Linked DNA regions of Homo sapiens: all the other regions are linked to region 2. The links are contacts of gene promoters, found by promoter capture Hi-C in blood cells and fetal thymus (Javierre and others, 2016). All regions are on one chromosome and are shown on one strand. Each heading gives the region's core, a stretch centred on a gene start or on the middle of the fragment in contact. The rest is flanking DNA. Distances are from core to core; before and after follow the strand shown. Region 1 has its middle 81 kb from the start of ADRB2. Region 2 holds the start of ADRB2 (adrenoceptor beta 2). Region 3 has its middle 74 kb from the start of ADRB2.

Region 1 (2,759 bases), core at 235-2,734, 80 kb before region 2:
CATTTACATTATAATAGGCTTATTTTATTTATTGCTACAACTTGTAAGAAGTGACTATATTAGTTAGCATCCAGCTTTAGATGCGTTTAACAAAGACCTAGAAGAACAGTGGCTTAAACAGAGAGAAGTCTACCTCTCTGCCATGTGAAACTCTTCATGTAGACAGTTCACGGCTGGTATGGAGCCTCCACAGGCATCCAGGATCCAGGTTTCTTCCAATTCTCTATCATCCTCAGGTGTGTCCCCTCATGTCACCATCCTGAGTGGAAACCCAACCATCAGATCCATAATCCAGATAGCAGGGAGAAGATGGAGGGGAATAAAGGATACGCCCCCTCCCTTAAGGACACAATCCAGAACCTGACTTTTCTACTTCTGCTTACAACATCCCATTGGGCAGAACTTAGTCACATGGCTGAGCCTAGCTACAGGGAATCCTGGGAAATGTAGCCGTGTTTCAACTTGAAATTTGGCAGCCATATTACAGGGGAAGAATGAAAGAGTAGATATTGGGGGACAGGAAGCAATTTCTGCCATATTTGCCATTTTTAAAGTGTTATAAATAGTTATTCATAAACTATTGCGGTTTCTTACACCCCCTACCCCACAGCATTTTGGTGGGTAATAATAAAAAGTGTAATTGTAATAATAAAAGTAGTAAAACTTGTGGATAAGCCAGTAGGAGTGTGCTGTGCCTGGGAACAATGTCTTGTACGTGACATTAGAAAACATGTAGAGAACTTGTCTCATCTCTTTACCCTGACATTCAAGTTTTCTACAATGGGGCCACAGCCTACTTTTCCAAATATTTAATTCTTCACTTCTGTGCTTGAGAGCTCTATTTTAGCAAAGGATAGTTAAAGAAAACGTAACTTTCTTCCCTCCCTGTCATTTGTCATGTTGTTCCTGTCACTTAGAAGCTTTCCTTGGATTCCTAGAACATGAACTTATGCTCCACCTCAGGTCTTGCCTCTTCCTTTCTCTGGGATGTGTTTTTCCCAGACAGCTTTTTATATAGCCCTCTCCTTTTTGTCATTCAGATCTCAGTTCAAGTACCAAATGGAGAGAGAGGCCATCTCTGATAAACTTTTTAAGTACTGTCTCTTCCCCGCACCCCCACCCCACTCTCTATCACATTACTCTGCTTCATTTTCTTCATAGCATTGTTCAATATCTGAAGTTACCTTGTTTTGTTACATGCTTATGCTGCTTCTGCATCTTTTCCCATAGAACGTTCTAGAAAAGCCAAGGCCTGTCAGTTTGCTCACTGTTGCACATTTGGCTTGATGGCTCATGTTAGAGACTCGATAGCACATTGCTTAAATCAAGAAATGACTGCATACCCGTTTCTCCCTCTCTAACCTACTTAGGCTCTGAGCCAAGCCCACAGCCTCAACTTGCTCTATGAAGTATGTTTTGATCCTTTTGCCCCATTTGCATCATGCCTGGCTTCTTTTCATCTTTCAAACTGAAACTTAAATGTCACTTCCTTGGAAAGCCCATCACTGTTGACCCCAGAGCAGGCAGGTGTCCCCCTTACTTCATCAGAGAACCCTGCTCCTCATTTCCTTCAGGGTTCTTTTCACAACATGTAATTCTATATTTACTTACATCTACACTTACTTTTTTTTTCTCTCTCTCTCCCCACTAGAGGTTAAGCCATAGAGGTGGAGAGGTCAGTCTTCCTTGCCCTCACGGTGAATCCCAGGGCACAGTATGGTGTCTGTATGTAGTAGGTGGTCCAGAAACTTGTGAATAAACCAATGAAAGCACAACATGTGCTGCCTATACCGCTTACCTGGATAATAACGATCCCCTCTCTATCTTTAACTTTAATACCCGTAAGATTCTTCATCTAGGCAATTCTCATCTCTCTTTTGTAAGCTCCTTACAGACAGGGACCAGTTTCCTCTTTATACCTCTTCACTCCAGCATACTGGGTTTCCTTAGATCAGTTTTTCTGACACTGTATTCCAGGATTGTTGATAAGCATTGCAAGAAAACTGGATTCCATGATCAAAAAGTTTGCTTGTACTAGGTTAAGCTTAAATGGTTGTTTGTTTTGTTTTGTTTTGTTTTTTTAAATCACAGAACTTTACAAGGATTTTGATGTGCTATTACAGGATATAAATTTCCAAGAGGTGAGATAAAGTAGTCAGTATTGTCCAAACTTTTTGGAAACTTTATTTTCTTTTTTCGGAGACTAATTTGAGGTATTCTAAGTGTTTCATGGTACATACTCTCATTCCCTCTAGCTTTTTTTGAATTTCTCTTCTACCTTCTTATTTGTTTCCCTACTTTTTCTCCAATGAGCCTCTCCTCTTTTTAAAACTCCCTTGTAAATGATCTTAACACTGACTGTCATTTGTAGGGTGCAGAGCACAGGTGCAACTACTCAACCTCACTCGAGAAGAGCCTGCATCCAAGGTCTGTAAACCTCAGAATCTGGTGTGCCCAATCTCACAGAAGCCCTCATGCCCCTGAGTCTTAATTTTTCCACTGGTATGATTTAGGAAGTAATGAGCTAAATAATAACTTTGCTGGTAAGTACTTGGGGGGACACCAACTAGATTTCAAACTACTGTGGGTTTCATTTCCAATCTGGAAGATGGGATTGGCCATTGATCAGGAGATGTACACAGGATGTTGAATCTACTACACTCCAACCTCATGGTAGAGCAACTGACTCAGACCACTCTGTGAGCCTTCCCCAGCATCGGTCTCCTGATCTAATAAACTTGAGCACCAGATCCACCTAA
Region 2 (2,964 bases), core at 207-2,706:
AGTGAGTCATTTGTACTACAATTCCTCCCTTGTGAATCAATGTTATCGCTAGGCACAGTACCTTGATGGCCCACAAAGTCTTCCGTGCCTGGGAGGTCTTCACACAGCAGTTTATTTTCTTTCTCCTGTTCCACGTGATATCCACTCTGCTCCCCTGTGTTGCCGTTGCTGGAGTAGCCATTCCCATAGGCCTTCAAAGAAGACCTGCGCAGGCACAGAAGCTCCTGGAAGGCAATCCTGAAATCTGGGCTCCGGCAGTAGATAAGGGGATTGAAACCAGAATTGACATAGCCTATCCAATTTAGGAGGATGTAAACTTCCTTACGGATGAGGTTATCCTGGATCACATGCACAATGTTAACGATGAAGAAGGGCAGCCAGCAGAGGGTGAAAGTGCCCATGATGATGCCTAACGTCTTGAGGGCTTTGTGCTCCTTCAAGCAGAACTTGGAAGATCTGCGGAGTCCATGCCCCGTCCGCCCATCCTGCTCCACCTGGCTAAGGTTCTGGACATGGAAGCGGCCCTCAGATTTGTCAATCTTCTGGAGCTGCCTTTTGGCCTCCTGAAAGACCCTGGAGTAGACGAAGACCATGATCACCAGGGGAACGTAGAAGGACACGATGGAAGAGGCAATGGCATAGGCTTGGTTCGTGAAGAAGTCACAGCAGGTCTCATTGGCATAGCAGTTGATGGCTTCCTGGTGGGTGGCCCGGTACCAGTGCATCTGAATGGGCAAGAAGGAGGTAAGGCCTGACACAATCCACACCATCAGAATGATCACCCGGGCCTTATTCTTGGTCAGCAGGCTCTGGTACTTGAAAGGTGAAGTAATGGCAAAGTAGCGATCCACTGCGATCACGCACAGGGTCTCAATGCTGGCCGTGACGCACAGCACATCAATGGAAGTCCAAAACTCGCACCAGAAGTTGCCAAAAGTCCACATTTTCATAAGAATATGGGCGGCCCCAAAGGGCACCACTGCCAGGCCCATGACCAGATCAGCACAGGCCAGTGAAGTGATGAAGTAGTTGGTGACCGTCTGCAGACGCTCGAACTTGGCAATGGCTGTGATGACCAGCACATTGCCAAACACGATGGCCAGGACGATGAGAGACATGACGATGCCCATGCCCACCACCCACACCTCGTCCCTTTCCTGCGTGACGTCGTGGTCCGGCGCATGGCTTCCATTGGGTGCCAGCAAGAAGGCGCTGCCGTTCCCGGGTTGCCCCATGGCGCGCAGTCTGGCAGGTGAGCGCACTGGCTGGGGGCGCCTCAGCGGGCGGACCCACGGCGGGGCTCTGCGGGCCGCGAGCGGACGCCTGGAAGCCTCATTCAGCGGCTGTGGTGTGGGTGTGGTGGGGACTCGTCCTGCACACTCAGCTTGTCGGGTGCTAGGGGCTCGCGGTGCCTGCCAGTTCCAGCCCGTGCTCTGAAGAAGCCGCTTCGCAGTGCGTTCTGCCCGTTATGTGCACAGGACTTTAGGGGAACTGCCCTCGCCGTGACGTACGGGAACTTTCGGCCAATGGCACGCCGGCAGCCGCGAAGGGGCGAGGCACTCCTCCCCTTTCCCTCCCCTCCCCTCGCCCTCCTTCTCCTGGGGCTGGCCCGGGCGGGGCCCAACTGCTCCCTGGAGGGCGGGCCACCACTGCTTCCCGGCTACCCTGGCTGGCCCCAGAGGGCTAAAGCTGGAGGTGGTGTCCTTACCAGCCAACCCGGGAGCTTTTGGCTCTTCTGTGGCCGCTACCTGCCTGCCCTGGGCGCCTGCGCGGCTTGAGGTCTCAAGGCAGAGGGCAGCACACCGGCACTGCCCCACATTCGGAAGGAAACGAGAGTGCCCACCGAGGCACGCACATACAGGCACAAATACACCCTGGCAGACATGCTCAGACTTATACCGAACCACAGCCATAGACACTGAGACACACCCTCCCAGCTCACCGACATGCACACTCGCGCGCGCTCTCACACAGAAGCCATCCGGCACAAAGTCACCCCTGTCCAACACAGAAACGCGGCCAGAAACAAACACAGAAGCACCCAGAAGCACAAAGACATGGTGACACACACAGAAAGTAAACACACGCTGGCTTGGAGGCATCCAGAGCGACACAGACACGGATGTCTCCATCTGGGTACTCCGAACTTGCCTCACCCGAGCACTGATAATGCTCCCCTCCCAACATACACCCGGTAACCCAGTGTATTCCCTTTCAAACATTTGGCAAGAGCACAGGAGGTGACTTCAACAGCTGCTGATTTCCTCAGCACACTCGCTGTCAAGTACTTTAGGTGCCCTCCTTAGGAATTTGCAGGCATGAAGACAGTTTTACCCTTTGGATTTTATCTGGAGCGGGGGTATGCAAGTATGTATTTTGGGACAGAGAGAGAAAGTTGTGTGCTTTTGTTTTAATTTTTTTGTTGTTTTGTTTTTAACTCTTGAGAGTGTGGCATCACTCACTCATTATCTGTTGAACTGGAGATGCAATGAGAATTCAAACAATTTCTTCAGTAAACCCAATGAAACTAAAAAAAATCCTTTCATCTGCTGGATAGTTTGTTAATCTTTCGGGTTGTGCCATGTGAAATTGCCACCATCTGGCGTCTGTGACTTACCAAAATGGCAAATTCATATGGTTCAGAGTATTAAGAATGTCTTAACATTAAGAACATTTTGAAGCTATAGAAAGCAAAAGATCCTGGCCAATATGGTGTAACTCTTGTCTCTACTAAAAATACAAAAATTAGCCAGGTGTGGTGGCACGTACCTGTAGTCCCAGCTACTCGGGAGGCTGAGACAGGAGAATCTCTTGAACCCGGGAGGTGAAGGTTGCAGTGAGCCGAGATCACGTCACTGCGCTCCAGCCTGGGTGACAGAACAAGACTCCATCTCAAAACAAAACAAAACAAAAAACACAAGATAATTCTCCCTTAAGAAAAAGAAAAAAGTAAGACCAAATCTC
Region 3 (2,700 bases), core at 184-2,683, 74 kb after region 2:
GGCATACAAATTGCCAACAGGTATATGAAAATATTTCCAACATTGCTAATCAGGGACATGTAAATCAAAGCCACAATAAGATATCACCTCAAACTAGTTAGGACAACTATTTTCAGAAAACCAACAGATAACAAATGTTGGTGAGGATGTGTAATAGACAATAAAGAACCTTGTACAATGTTCTCAAAGCCACTATGTAAAACAGTATAAACTTTTCTTTAAAAATGAAAAATGAAAATACCATTATTATCTAGCAATCCCACTTTAGGGTATGCATCCAAAGGATTTGAAATCAAGATCTTGAAGAGATATCTGCACTCCCATGTTCATTCCATTATTATTCACAACAGCCAACACATGAAAGCAACCTAAGAGTCCATCAACAAATGTATGAATAAAGAAAATGTGACATTCCATGCTCATGGATAGGAAGAATCAATATCGTGAAAATGGCCACACTGCCCAAAGTAATTTATAGATTCAATACTATCCCCATCAAGCTACCACTGACTTTCTTCAAAGAAGTGGAAAAAACTACTTTAAATTTCATATGGAACCAAAAAAGAGCCCACATAGCCAAGACAATCCTAAGCAAAAAGAACAAAGCTGGAGGCATCACGCTACATGACTTCAAACTATACTACAAGCCTACAGTAACCAAAACAGCATGGTACTGGTACCAAAACAGATATATAGACCAATGGAACAGAACAGAGCCTCAGAAATAATACCACACATCTACAACCATCTGATTTTTTGACAAACCTGACAAAAACAAGAAATGGGGAAAGGATTCCATATTTAATAAATGGTGTTGGGAAAACTGGCTAGCCATATGCAGAAGGCTGAAACTGGATCCCTTCCTTACACCTTATACAAAAATTAACTCAAGATGGATTAAATACTTAAACATAAGACCTAAAATCATAAAAACCCTAGAAGAAAATCTAGGCAATAGCATTCAGGACATAGGAATGGGCAAAGACTTCATGACTAAAAAACCAAAAGCAATGGCAACAAAAGCCAAGATTGACAAATGGGATCCGGTTAAACTAAAGAGCTTCTGCACAGCAAAATAAACTATTATCAGAGCGAACAGGCAACCTACAGAATGGGAGAACATTTTTGCAATCTACCCATCTGACAAAGGGCTAATATCCAGAATCTACAAAGAACTTAAACAAATTTACACACACACACACACACACACACACATACACACACACACAAACAATCCCATCAAAAAGTGGGTGAAGGATGTGAACAGACACTTCTCAAAAAAAGACATTTATACAGCCAACAAACATATGAAAAAAAGCTCATCATCACTTGGTCATTAGAGAAATGCAAATCAAAACCACAGTGAGATACCATCTCATGCCAGTTAGAATGGCCATCATTAAAAAGTCAGGAAACAACAGATGCTGGAGAGGATGTGGAGAAATAGGAATGCTTTTACACTGTTGGTGGGAGTGTAAATTAGTTCAACCATTGTGGAAGACAGTGTGGTGATTCCTCAAGGATCTAGAACCAGAAATACCATTTTACCCAGCAATCCCATTACTGGGTGTATACCCATAGGATTATAAATCATTCTACTATAAAGACACATGCACACATATGTTTATTGTGGCACTGTTCACAATAGCAAAGACTTGGAACCAACCCAAATGCCCCTTAATGATAGACTGGATAAAGAAAATGTGGCACATATACACCATGGAATACTATGCAGCCATAAAAAAGGAGGAGTTCATGTCCTTTGCAGGGACATGGATGATGCTGGAAGCCATCATTCTCATTAAATTAACACAGGAGCAGAAAACCAAATACCACATGTTCTCACTCATAAGCAGGAGCTGATCAGTGAGAATACATGGACACAGAGAGGGGAACATCACACACTGGGGCCTGTTGGGGGGTGGGGGGCTAGGAGAGGGATAGCATTAGGAGAAATACCTAATGTAGATGACGGGTTGATGGGTGCAGCAAACCACCATGGCACATGTATACTTATGTAACAAACCTGCACGTTCTGCACATGAACCCCAGAACTTAAAGTATAATAAAAAATGTATGTAAAAAAAAGAAAATGTGATGTATGTATACAATGGGATATTATTCAGCCTTAAAATGGAAAGGAAATCCTGCCATTTGCAAACATATGGATGTACTTGGAGGATATTATGCTAAGTATTATAAGCCAGACACAGAATGACAAACACAACATGACACTATTTATACAACAAATATAAAATAGTCAAACTCTTAGAAGCAGACAATGAATGGTGGTTGCCAGGGACTGAGGAGAGGACATATTAGAAGGTGTTAGTTGAAAGTTTCAAAGGTTTGGTGATACATAATGAATAAGTTCTAAAGGTTTACTGCACGACATAGTGCTTATAGTTAACAATACTGTATAGTATACTTAAAAATTTGCTGAATGGGTAGATGTTATATGAAGTGAGCTTATCACATACACACACACATACATACAAATAATATATAAGAGGAGAGGGGAAAAATTTTGCTTTATATTTATCTCCAAACTCGTCAAGTTGTACATATTAAATATGTGTAGCTTTTTGCATGTCAATCCTACCTTAATAAAGTGGCTTAAAAGAGGAAGAGTATTATAAGGTTCAAACCACAAGAAGAAAGCCAGAAGAAAGCAGGTAGTCCTGGGAGAGACACTATACC

Evidence for each region. The method cuts DNA at HindIII sites, captures the fragments that hold promoters and counts their contacts. A CHiCAGO score of 5 or more calls a contact.
Region 1: a contact is called between a fragment that was not itself captured here and the fragment with the promoter of ADRB2 in region 2, in 4 of 17 cell types (M2 macrophages, total B cells, endothelial precursors and 1 more). The highest score is 6.1, in M2 macrophages.
Region 3: a contact is called between a fragment that was not itself captured here and the fragment with the promoter of ADRB2 in region 2, in 5 of 17 cell types (monocytes, neutrophils, total B cells and 2 more). The highest score is 8.8, in monocytes.

Annotation. Positions count from the first base shown.
Region 1 is chr5:148,905,759-148,908,517 of GRCh38, reverse strand. No RefSeq gene overlaps it. Among named protein-coding and RNA genes, the nearest start is that of ADRB2, 81 kb to the right of the region's middle. The HindIII fragment of the contact is 1,124 bases long and covers 923-2,046 here.
Region 2 is chr5:148,825,103-148,828,066 of GRCh38, reverse strand. It overlaps ADRB2 (adrenoceptor beta 2), which reads right to left and starts at 1,456. Exons shown (of 1, transcript NM_000024.6): 1 at 1-1,456. The coding sequence starts at 1,235. RefSeq lists enhancers at 556-1,141, 1,998-2,157 and silencers at 1,188-1,327, 1,418-1,727. The HindIII fragment of the contact is 9,818 bases long and covers 1-2,964 here.
Region 3 is chr5:148,751,616-148,754,315 of GRCh38, reverse strand. No RefSeq gene overlaps it. Among named protein-coding and RNA genes, the nearest start is that of ADRB2, 74 kb to the left of the region's middle. The HindIII fragment of the contact is 3,299 bases long and covers 1-2,700 here.